2 separate regions of the Homo sapiens genome follow, and region 1 is linked to region 2. Evidence: promoter capture Hi-C in 16 types of primary human blood cells and fetal thymus (Javierre and others, 2016). All regions are on one chromosome and are shown on one strand. The core of a region is centred on a gene start or on the middle of the fragment in contact, and the rest is flanking DNA. Distances in the headings are between cores, read along the strand shown.

Evidence for each region. The method cuts DNA at HindIII sites, captures the fragments that hold promoters and counts their contacts. A CHiCAGO score of 5 or more calls a contact.
Region 1: a fragment that was not itself captured here is called in contact with the fragment with the promoter of PRPF3 in region 2 in 1 of 17 cell types (M1 macrophages); the score reaches 5.5 in M1 macrophages.

Annotation. Positions count from the first base shown.
Region 1 is chr1:150,465,816-150,471,981 of GRCh38, reverse strand. RPRD2 (regulation of nuclear pre-mRNA domain containing 2) reads right to left here. Exons shown (of 11, transcript NM_015203.5): 11 at 1-1,421. Among named protein-coding and RNA genes, the nearest start is that of TARS2, 19 kb to the left of the region's middle. The HindIII fragment of the contact is 7,293 bases long and covers 1,270-6,166 here.
Region 2 is chr1:150,319,885-150,325,853 of GRCh38, reverse strand. It overlaps PRPF3 (pre-mRNA processing factor 3), which reads right to left and starts at 4,321. Exons shown (of 16, transcript NM_004698.4): 1 at 4,262-4,321; 2 at 767-959; 3 at 1-103. The coding sequence starts at 911. RefSeq lists enhancers at 4,223-4,272, 4,463-4,512, 4,642-5,207. The HindIII fragment of the contact is 20,070 bases long and covers 427-5,969 here.

The sequences.
Region 1 (6,166 bases), core at 3,667-6,166, 150 kb before region 2:
ATTCTTAAATTCAATCGTCGACGTGGTGGAAATGGTGGAGGCCAGGACTTTCTCCACGCCTGACGTGGGTGGGTGACCCGTGGGAGCGGCAAGGGTGTTCTGCGGAGAGAAAAGGGAACGATGTGGGACTGGGTGAGGAGAGTCTGGGTACTGCTTCTGTGGCAAACTGAGATGCCCAGTGGTAGATTGAGACAAGCTATTGTGGTTGGAGTCAGGGGTGAAAAATGAATCATTCTTACTCGGTGATGGTGACCGGTCAGACCCAGGTTCATTCCCTCTTACGCTGAAGGCACCAAATAGCCCAGGGGAAGATGAGAGACGGTCACAGTTCTCACTAGAGTCCAGGAGGGCCCTTACAGATGGAGGGAAGGCAGACTTTACCCCAAATTCTTGGGCTCTGTGGCTATAACTGGACAGAATTGGCTGGTACTCGGTGGTATCAGACAGCTTGCTTGATTTCAGGATAGATTTGGCTGGTTTCTTCTCTAGGTTCATCATGGCAGAGGGTGGAGGCCCTGAATACTCAAAATCTCGGTAATCCTCATCTTCTTGGAAAGAAGTATCTGGGTAGAACTTTTCCTGTGAAGAGTCCATCAGGGAAGATGGTCTCTCCATTCCATCAGAAGGCTGCTTATAGGGAGATTCACTGCCCAGACCAAAGGGTCGATATGTAGATACAGAATTGGAGAGCTCTCGGGGGTAGCTTTCATCTCTCCCAGGGGGTGGTGATCTTGTACTGCTGGGTGTTGAGGAACCAGGGCTAATGATCTTAGAAAGCAGGGACATAGTATCTACACTGCTGGATGTGGGCTTGTCCATCATCTCATCCTGGGTGGGTGTCCCACTCCGTTCATCCCGTACAGGGGTTCCATCAATGTTGTCGATTGAGGTGCTAGTAGGGCCACGCTGGAAGTCTGAGGGATGGCTCTCTGATGGGGCGCTGGACCCCAAACTGCTCAGGATTGGGATGTTTAAGTTTAAGCCACTGAAACCAGGATTACCTTTTAAGAAGTTGTGAATCTTCATTTCCAGGCTTGGGGAGGTGGACTCTGACTCCAGCTTTGGCTTGGAGACCTCTGAAGATTGGCAGATGGTAACTTCAGTAGGTGGGGCAGCAGGGCTAGTATTGTGGGTAGCTGTAAACCCCAAAGAGTTGGAAGGTAGTTTAAAAGTAGTGCTTGGGAGCCCTGGGCTTTGCCCAATTGAGGCCTTGCTGGCTGAAGTTGAAGAGACTTCAGAAGTTGATGAGTTAGGAGAATAGTTGAAGCTTTTGGGAATAAAAGGTTGGGCACTGGAGGGCAGATTTCTTCCCTTTATGGTAGAGACTGTGGTGTTGGCAGGGGAGGCTGAAGTGCTCTGTGAGGCAGCTTCACTGGCTGGAACTGGGTTCCCAGTAACACTCTGAAGTAAAGATGACAGGCCTGTAGAAACAAAGATTAGAGGGGTTAAAAAGAACAACTCCCTATCATACAATGCAAACAATGTAGGCTAATCAGATACTCTCATTCATTTTGGTGGGAACCAGATAGACAAAGTGTAAGGCCAAAAGGAATCCAGACCAAACAAGCAATGGCTAAATGTCACAGAAAATACAGGGCCTATTTTATCAATAAAGAGCAAATCACTGAAATGTTTCCAGTACAGTCCAGAAATCAGCCCAACATGGCACAATAAAAGGCAACAGGAAGGGGGAGATTTTAATGTCAGAATCATTCATAGTTTAAGTTAGGCAAAGCAGGAAAAGAAAGGAGGCAAAGTTATTCTTAAAACAACACTTTAAGCCAGTATTTCTTAATGTTTGATCTGTGGAAGTGTTTCTCTAAATGCAAACAGATCTGTTCTACCTTTCCTGTCCAACCTTCAAACCAACCTTCAACCTTCAAACTTATTATCTCTAATAAGTTAATATACATTGTTATTTTCAAGCGGGAGACAGGCAAATGCAAATTTCAGAAACTTATCTGAACAGCAAACACCTTTTTCAAGAAGCACCTCTTGGTAGACTGTTGTTACTTTTTGAAAAACAATGCTTTCAACCATCCGTTTTGGTTGTAAAATGTAGCTATAACAAACATACACCACAAAGACTTACAAAGACAGACCACCAGGGACACTGGTCCTTTCACAAGAAAACACACAATCCCCATTTTATAGTGTGGAAAATCCAAGGATTATTTAGTCCAGATTGACAATGATGGAATTTAACTGTGTTCACTGACAGTCAAAACTTTCTCAGAAGCACTGAGAAAGAATTCTTTGGGGCAAAGGCTGAAGTTCAACAAAGCAAACTGCTCCTGTAGAAAATTTTTTAGAAAAATATTTGACAAAAAGATAACAGAAGGTTCTATAAATTCAATCATATTTTTAAAAATTTACCCAATTTCTGGTCACAAATGAAGACTTTTGGCTGGGCACGGTGGCTCATGCCTGTAATCCTAGCATTTTGGGCAGCAGAGGCAGGAGGATGGCTTGAGGCCAGGAGTTTGAGACCAGCCTGGGAAACACAGAGAGACTCTGTCTCTAAAAAAAATTTAAAAATCAGCTGGGCATGATGGTGCATGCCTGTAGTCCTAGCTACTCAGGAGGCTGAGGCTGGAGAATCACTTGTGCCCAGTTCAAGGTTACAGTAAACTAACTATGACTCTGCCACTGCACACCAGCCTGGGTGGCAAAGTGAGTCTCTGTATTTAAAAATAAATTAATTAAAAAAATTTTTAATATACATTTCACCCAAATTTATAGCTTTTAGTCACTGAATACACTAACATTGTTCCTTAGTAATTATATGATTAAAGAAAATACTTCATGTGATATTTCAATTAACATTTCTTCAAAATTTCAATTTTAACCCATATTCTAACAGATTTGGCCTAAAGAATTTCAAGTCCCCTCCATCCTTGTAACATTTTAAAGCCATTTATTTCTAAATAATGTTGGATGGTCTTTATTGTTATCCAATATTCAGTAATATCCAAACAACTGAAATAATGTTTACTTTAGTTATGATCCTTCTGAAGAAAAAAAAAAATCGGCATGTTTCATTCCAAAAAAAGTTCCCTAGCCACATAATTCATCCCTACTAATAGTTTCCTTTTTTTTTTTCAAGAGACAGGCTCTTGCTCTGTCACCCAGGCTGGAGTGCAGTGGTGCGATCATAGCTCACTGTAACCTCAACCTCTTGGGCTCAAAAGATTTATCTGCCTTAGCTTCCTGAGTAGCTGGGACCACAGGTGTACATCACTATGCCCAGCTAACTTTTTTATTTTTAGTAGAGACAAGGTCTCACCATGTTGCGCAGGCTGATCTCAAAATCTTGGGCTCAAGTGATTGTCCCACTTCAGCCTCCCAAAGTGCTGAGATTACAGGCGTGAGCCACCATGCCCAGCCTGATTTAATTCTTAGTAATCACTGTTCTCACAAAACCCAGAAGTCCTCAAACACTAGAATGTGATATATAATAATGTAATATGATTTTTAGAAGATATTTCAGCATATTTTTCAGATATTTTGGGATAACTTCTTCAAAAGAACATCTTTTTAAGATAGATATACTACTCAGATTTCTGGTAATAGGTAAAATTGTCTCTCACCACTAAATATTACTGTTCTCCAATCTTTTTTTTTTTTAATTATTTTTAAAAATTCTTAAAAACAATAGAGATAGGGGTTTTGCTATATTGACCAGGCTGGTCTCAAACTCCTGGCCTCAAGTGATCCTCCCATCGTGGCCTCCCAAAGTGTTAGGATTACAGGCATGAGCCACTGCGCCCAGCCAAAAGTTTGCTCTTTAATCATAACAAGTCATACTCTGCTCCTTTGCCCACTGAAGTTTCTCTTTTTTTGAGACAGAGTTTTGCTCGTCGCCCAGGCTGGCTCACTGCAACCTCTGCCTTCCGGGTTCAAGCGATTCTCCTACCTCAGCCTCCCAAGTAGTTGGGGTTACAGCTGTGAGCCACCACGCCCAGCTAATTTTTTTGTATTTTTTTTTGGAAAGACAGGTTTACCCTGTTGGCCAGGCTGGTCTTGAACTCCTGACCTCAGGTGATCCACCCGTCCCCAAAGTGCTGGAATTACAGGTGTGACCCACCACACCGGGCCTGAAGTCTCTCTTTTGTGTTATAAATCTGTCAATACCTAGGGCTGTGGATGACACAATCAGAACAAAGTTCTGGGATTTCATTAACAGTCTTCGAGGAAATACATCTATTTAACTTGCTAGATACAATCCTTTTAAAAGTCAAAGAGAATTCCACATTCCATAAGGAACCTAGTTCTGTTCAAATTTTGCCTCATCAGAAATTTCACATCGGCCAGGCACGGTGGTTCACACCTGTAATCCCAGCACTTTGGGAGGTCGAGGCAGGTGGATCACGTGAGGTCAGGAGTTCGAGACCAGCCTGGCCAACATGGCGAAACCCCGTGTCTACTAAAAATACAAAAATTAGCCGGGCATGGTGGTGTGAGCCTGTAATACCAGCTACTCGAGAGGCTGAGGCAAGAGAATCACTTGAACCCGAGAGGCAGAGGTTGCAGTGAGCCGAGATCACACCACTGCACTCCAGCCTGGGCAACAGAGCAAGTCCCCGTCTCAAAAACAAACAAACAAATAAAAATAAAAAGGGAGAAAGCATAAACATGTCAAACTCTCAAATTGTCCCTGATATTAGTAGTACAACATGTGCTGCAGTCATCATCAATTCTTTATTGCTGATGCCAATAGATAGGGGCTGTGGATTATTACTTAATACTATTTAGTTCTGTGTAACAAAATTCTTCTGCACCTCCAGACAAAGTTCACTATAATATGCTTGAATGATCCACTTACATAACAGTTTAGGAAACTGTTTTACACCACTCCTTTGATAGAGAGCAGGGTTTCTCAACCTCAGCACTACTGACACTTTGGGCTAGATAATTCTTTATTGTTGGGGCTGTCTCACACATTGTAGGATATTTAGGAGCATCCTCCTGGCCTCTACTCACTAGAGGCAGTAGCACCCCTACCATTACCCCAGTTGAGACAACTAAAAAGGTCTCCAAATATTGCCAAGTGTCCTCCCTGGAGGCCTTTGGTTGAGACTACTGATATAGAGTAAATCACTACACTGAATATATTGCCCTGGTATTTGTAATTCATTTCATAATTATACTACGGTACTTAAAAAGGATTTCATTGGTATCTGGAGCATAAGAGAGTAGAGAGTAGGAAAGATTTATGAAAAAAGGTTAGAAACAGGCAGTGTCATGCACAAAACATAATTAGTAAAGCTGAACAGAAAGGGTCAAATGAGAGAGATTATAGGTAGGTGAAAACAAAAATACTACATCTAAGACTCTAATAAAATAATAAATAAAATAATAAATAATGAAGCCTCTATAAAACATTAGGACAAAAAAAGATATATTCATGTCTCAGAAATTTTTTTTTTTTTTTTTTTGAGGCAGGGTCTCATCACTTAGGTTGGAGTACAGTGGGGTGACCACAGCGTACTGCAGCCTTGAACTCCTGGGCTCAAGTGATCCTCCTGCCTTAGCCCCCTGAGTAGCTGGAACTACAGGCATGCACCACTATGCCCAGCTAATTTTTTTTTTTTTTTTTTTTTTGAGACAGAGTCTTGCTCTTTTGCCCAGGCTGGAGTGTAGTGGGGCAATCTTGGCTCACTGCAACCTCCACCTCCTGGGTTCACACCATTCTCCTGCCTCAGCCTTCCAAGTAGCCAAGACTACAGGTGCCCGCCACCACGCCCGGCTAATTTTTTGTATTTTTAGTAGAGTCGGGGTTTCACTGTGTTAGCCAGGATGGTATCGATCTCCTGAACTCATGATCCGCCTGCCTCAGCCTCCCAAAGTGCTGGGATTACAGGCGTGAGCCACCGCGCCCGGCGCTAATTTTTAATTCCGTTGTAGAGACAGGGTTTCACTATGTTCTTGAAGCGTCATAAAAAAATTTTTTTTTTTTTTTTTTTTTTTGGACTGAGTCTTGCTCTGTCGTCCAGGCTGGAGTGCAGTAGCGTGATTCCGGCTTACTGCGATCTCAGCACACTACAGGTGTGTGTCACCACACCTGGCTAATTTTCATATTTTTAGTAGAGATGTTATTTCACCTGGTTGGCCAGGCTGGTCTTGAACTGCTGACCTTAGGTGATCTGCCCGCCTCAGCCTCCCA
Region 2 (5,969 bases), core at 3,072-5,571:
CTGCTAGACTTGGAATGCCTAGAGCTTCGGCCTTCCTCCACAGCCTCAAACAGTTTGTCCACAAATCGGAGAGTAGAATCATCAAGAAAAGGTTTCAGATGATCTGACAGGAAGAAAGGCGGTGGTAGGGTTGGAAAGGTAAGAGTACACAGTCTAATACTAGGCCTATAACAGGTACCAACACTGGAATTTTATTCCCAGGAGTGAAACAAATTTTAAGTTTTTTGTAGGATTCCCATCTCTCTTACACTAAATGACCTTGCCCTGTGAGGTGAAAATAGTTATAATTTTTTGGCGTGGGAAGTGGTGCAGTTAGAGCAACCTGTTTACCTTGAACATCAAGTTTGAGATGAATAACCACCCTCACCTTTCCCAAATAGCAAGTTGTAGAAGCCTACCATTAACAAAATCTACCTCCTTCAAGCTTTTTCATGTATTTCATAAAGATTTTTGTATGTTGAGATGTTCAGTCTGAATCTGAATATGCCTATCTGACTTAAGCATACTTCCTAAGTAAATCTAACTTAGGTGACTCAGTATGGTAGCCAAACGAAGATTTAAAATCTATCATAAATAACATAAAAAATAAGCAATTAAGAGAAAAAGCAAATTATTATTTAGCCTATTTTCACTATAATACAGGTGAAAATAAAATATGGCCTGCCATTTTTTTAGATGTTCCCAACAGAGAGAATTTTGAGGAAGTTCAAAGCAGTGTTTGGGGTCACCCTATATGTTAAGATAAAAGATGCAGAAAGGTACATACCGGCTGCCTTCTTCTTGTCCATGCCCTTCCCCACACAGTTCAATGCTGCTGTGACCACCGTAGGCTCTGAGAAACCCAGGACCCTCTTCACTGTCTTCTCTATCCATGGTTTCAGCTCATCCAGCTCCCTCTTTGACAGTGCCATTTTTCAGGAAAAAGAGAACAATAGCTCAAACAGGACTCAATACTACACCTAAAAAAAAAAAAGAGACAAGTTAGAGAATAAGAAAAGACTAAAGTGGGCTGGGTGCAGTGGCTCATGCCTGTAATCCCAGCACTTTGGGAGGCCAAGGTGGATGGACTGCCTGGGGTCAAGAGTTCGAGACCAGTCTGGCCAACATGGTGAAACCCTGCCTCTACTAAAAATACAAAAAAATTAGCTGGGCGTGGTGGCATGTGCCTGTAATCCCAGCTACTTGGGAGGCTGAGGCAGGGGAATAACCAGGGAGGTAGAGCTTGCAACAAGTCAAAATCGCACCACTGCACTCCAGCCTGGGCGACAAAGCAAGACTCTCTCTACAAAAAAAAAAAAGACTAAAGTGATCCAGGGAAATGGTTAGTACATCAGGAATGCATTCCCCAGCCCTATTCTCAATCCCTAGACAAGTTTTTCCAACTCATTTGAAGGCAAATATTTTCCCCAAGAACCATATCTCAAAGCAGAAAGAGATCCCATTTGATTTTTAATTCTAACTCTTAAGTTGATCAATGAAATCTGCGGAATAAACAAACTCTGTGAATAAGCTAAGTCTGAGAAATTAGTTCTAGCTTCTTTCTTGATCCTGTCATATCAACAAGGACTTGCAAACCTAGTAACACTAAAACAGAACTAAAAAAGCCCATCCAGAGGCCAGCTTTTCCATTCTTCCTACTTCCAGGCAGGCATTCCCTAACCCAACCCTGACTTATGTAGGATTCCCTTCTTTTAAGGTATGCAAGTAAAAGAGGGTTTATCCAGGTCAGTCATCTTAGATATTAAATTAAATCTCATGATCTTTAAGAATGTTCTGGCCGGGCGCGGTGGCTCACGCCTGTAATCCCAGCACTTTGGGAGGCTGAGGCAGGTGGATCACGAGGTCAGGAGTTCAAGACCAGCCTGGCCAAGATGGTGAAACCCCATCTCTACTAAAAACTACAAAAAAATTTAGCTGGGCATGGTGGCAGGCGCCTGTAATCCCAGCTACTCGGGAGGCTGAGACAAGAGAATCACTTGAACCCAGGCAGCAGAGGTTGCAGTGAGCCAAGATCGCGCCACTGCACTCCAGCCTGGGCAACAGAGTAAGACTCCGTCTCAAAAAAAAAAAAAAAGAATGTTCTGTCACATTTCTCTGTGGTCATATTCATCCCAGTGGGAATTCTGCATACAGGTAATTATCATGTTCAATCTACAGGGTCTCCATCAGCTGACTTGATGATCCTTCAGCTCAGAAAAGAATACCCTCATTTTTATTTTGAGACAGAGTCTCACTCCGTCGCCCAGGCTGGAGTGCAGTGGCGTAATCTTGGTTCACTGCAACCTCCATCTCCTGGGTTCACTTGATTCTCCTGCCTCAGCCTCCCAAGTAGCTGGGACTACAGGCATGCACCACCACGCCTGGCCAATTTCGTAGTTTTAATAAAGACACGGTTTCACCATATCGGCCAGGTAATGCCTTACCTCAAGTGATCTGCCCACCTTGACCTCCGAAAGTTCTGGGATTACAGGCGTGACCCACTGCACCTGTCTCTACTAAAAATACAAAAATTAGCCAGGTGAGGTGGTGGGCACCTGTAATCCCAGCTACTTATGAGGCAGAGGCAGGAAAATCACTTGAACCCAGGAGGCGGAGGTTGCGGTGAGCCAAAATCATGTGCACTCCAGCCTGAGCGACAGAGTGAAACTGTGTCTCCAAAAAAAAAAAAAAAAAAAAAAAAGCCAGGTGCGGTGGCTCACGCCTGTAATCCCAACACTTTGGGAGGCCAAGGCGGGTGGATTATCTGACGTCAGGAGTTCGAGACCAGCCTGGCCAACATGGTGAAACCGCATCCCTATTAAAAATACAAATATTAGCTGGGCGTGGTGACCTGCACCTGTAATCCCAGCTACTCTGGAGGCTGAGACAGGAGAATCCCTTGAACATGGAAGGCGGAGGTTGCAGTGAGCCGAGATCGCACCACTGCACTCCAGCCTGGGCGACAGAGCAAGACTCCGTCCCGGGGAAAAAAAAAAAAGGTGTCTAAATGGGAGTCAATAAATTGACTGACCTCAATTTCCAAGCTCAGCTATTCCCAGCAGTGCCACTTATCAAAGATCTGGGAATCATCTTTCAAGATGTTTTAAGACATCTTTTCTCCAAAAAATCCAGTCTGATTAACTTCTACATTCTTGGTAAGTTTAGCCTCTATACTAGAGTCTATAAGACTTGATGCCAAATAGACTCACTTTTGGTATATCCAAAGGAAGCTAGTAGATTGAAGTGATGAAACTAAGACTGAAAGATTTTCTGCCTCAGTGACAAGTTACGTGAGTAATTCTATGGTGGTTCTATTACCCCACAATGAGTAGACATACAGCGTACCAATTTCTACATATTACACATGTATTGCACAAAAGCGGCATATCCAGATGCCATAGAAAGTGAAAACAAGAGTTCACACAGAAACAGTTGGGACACTGAGCCCCACCATTTACAAGCCCTTGGGCAAGTTAAGTAATTCTTTGGAGCCACAGTTTACCATCTTACAAAATGAGTACTGCCATATTTACATCCTAATTCATTCAATAAATATTTATTGAGTAACTACTAAGTGTCAAGCAATGTACTAGGTGCGGTGGATACATAAAACAGTGAGCAAAACTAACAAGAGTCCTCACCTTAACGGGTCTTATATTCCACTAGAATTGAATGATAGGCTAGAAAGTATAAGCAATTTGAAAGCCCAAAGCAATAAATGAGGTGCCACTGTTACCTCCATAAGATGACGTGCAAACTAAACAGCCAATGGATAAAAAAGTTTCAAACGGTAATTAGCCTTGTCACTAATCAAATGCTCAACAATAACTGCGAGGTGCGGGGGTAGTGGGGGTGCGGAAGGAAAGCGAGGTACAATGATCTCTCCTCTCAATGAGCAGGCAGCAGAATCCAAATCCAGTCTTCAGAAGGAATTCCTTACTCCGTGCTCTTGTTTGCTACAACCTGAGTTTCCCTCTGCAGCCCCCCACTCCCCCGCTAATCTTCATTTTTACTCTCTCCGTCACTCCAACCAGTCTCTTACTCTACCTTGTTCTACCTAAACTCCTCACCCCAGAGCTGGTCTCCCAACCCGGTCTCCTTCCCGCCCCCGCCCTTTTCCTCTCAACAATCTCATTCCAACCTCTTCTCCCACCAAACCAGGTACTCCTTTCACACTCCTTCCCGCTGAACCCTCCCGCTTCGGTCCTCCCCTTGGACTGAGTCCCCGGCCACAGTGGCGCGGACTGGAATTACCCTCTGTGGGCCCGGGGCCACTACTCACCTCACAAACTTCAGCCCCTGAGACGGAGCCCGAACGTTACACCGGAACCGGAAACCTTCTGACCGCCCTACGGCGTGCCGTCGCTACCGCCACCGCCGCCGCCACGCCGCTGTCTCCCAACACGTGACCAAGGAGGGCCGGGCCGCCAATTCGCGCAGCCGTATTTGCCACTTTCTTGGAGGCTGAACGCATGCGTCGCAGAACCGAAAAGTTTCCCTGAGCAATTTCCTTGCTTTCTATTTCCCAGGCTAAACCTATTAGCTAGATTTCTGCCAAGGTTTTTTTTTTAGCTTTTTTTTTGAGACGGAGTCTCGCTCTGTCGCCCAGGTTGGAGTGCAGTGACGCGATCTCGGCTCACTGCGAGCTCCGCCTCCCGGGTTCACGCCATTCTCCTGCCTCAGCCTCCCGAGTAGCTGGGACTACAGGCGCCCGCCACCACGCCCGGCTGATTTTTTGTATTTTTAGTAGAGCCGGGGTTTCACCGTGTTAGCCAGGATGGTCTCGATCTCCTGGCCTCGTGATCCGCCCGCCTCAGCCTTCCAAAGTGCTGGGATTACAGGCGTGAGCCACCGCGCCCGGCCGATTTCTGCCAAGTTAATGTCTTTAACTTCCTGAAGCGGAAATTGGGCTACTTGCTGTTTTCCTCATATGGAGAATAAGTGCGCAAAAGTAAACTTAGGCTAGAATGAAGAGCGAGGCTTCTGCGTTTGTGTTCAAACACAGCCTTTCTGGTAGAAAGTAAACCCTTTCTCCCTAATTTAACAGTGGTGTCAGGCCGGGCGCCGTGGCTCACGCCTGTAATCCCAGCACTTTGGGCTCAATAAATGACAAGTGAGACCTACCAGTATTGTTTTCTCCATTCTATCAATAGGTCTATATATTAACTTCTCTCCAAAATGAGGCTCTAACCTACTGACCCTTTATTTTTTATTTTTATTTTTTATTTTTTGAGACGGAGTCTCGCTCTGTCGTCAGGCTGGAGTGCATTCGGCTCACTGAAACTTCCGCCTCCCGAGTAGATGGGACTACAGGCGCGCGACCACCACGTCCAGCTAACTTTTGTATTTTTAGTAGAGACGGGGTTTCACCATGTTGGCCAGGATGGTCTCCATCTCTTGACCGCGTGATCCGCCCACCTCGGCCTCCCAAAGTGCTGGGATTACAGGGTTGAACCACCGCGCCCGGCCCCTACTGACTCTTTAAATCGATGATTCATAACAACATGTGTGTGGACAAAGATAGTTTGGAAAAAGATTGTCCAGTATTATGACACAATTTCTTATATGAGAAATGGAAAAAATTCCATTATTTTTATATTATAAACTATCCAAACTAAAGTTCCAAAATGTCTTCTTGGTGGTAGGCTGACTAGAAGATGCAGTTGTTCTTCAGGGAGGTTATTCACATTCCCCAGATAGTAGGAGATTTTTGTATCTAAAGATAACAATGTACATACCAAGCCCCACCTTCCCTGATGGGGCAGCACGACATAACAGGATAAAGCCTGGCTCTGAAGGAACAAGTTGGGGGAGTTTGAACCTACTGCTCAACTTATTCACAAATCAGTTTCCCCACCTACAGCTTCTAACACCAATGTCTCACAAAATATTCACTCAAAAAGTCTGTTGAATGGGTTAATGAGTTTCAACATTGCAGGGTTGTTGTAAATTTATTTTGTTTTGGTGCTTCTAACAGTCTGCGTTCAATT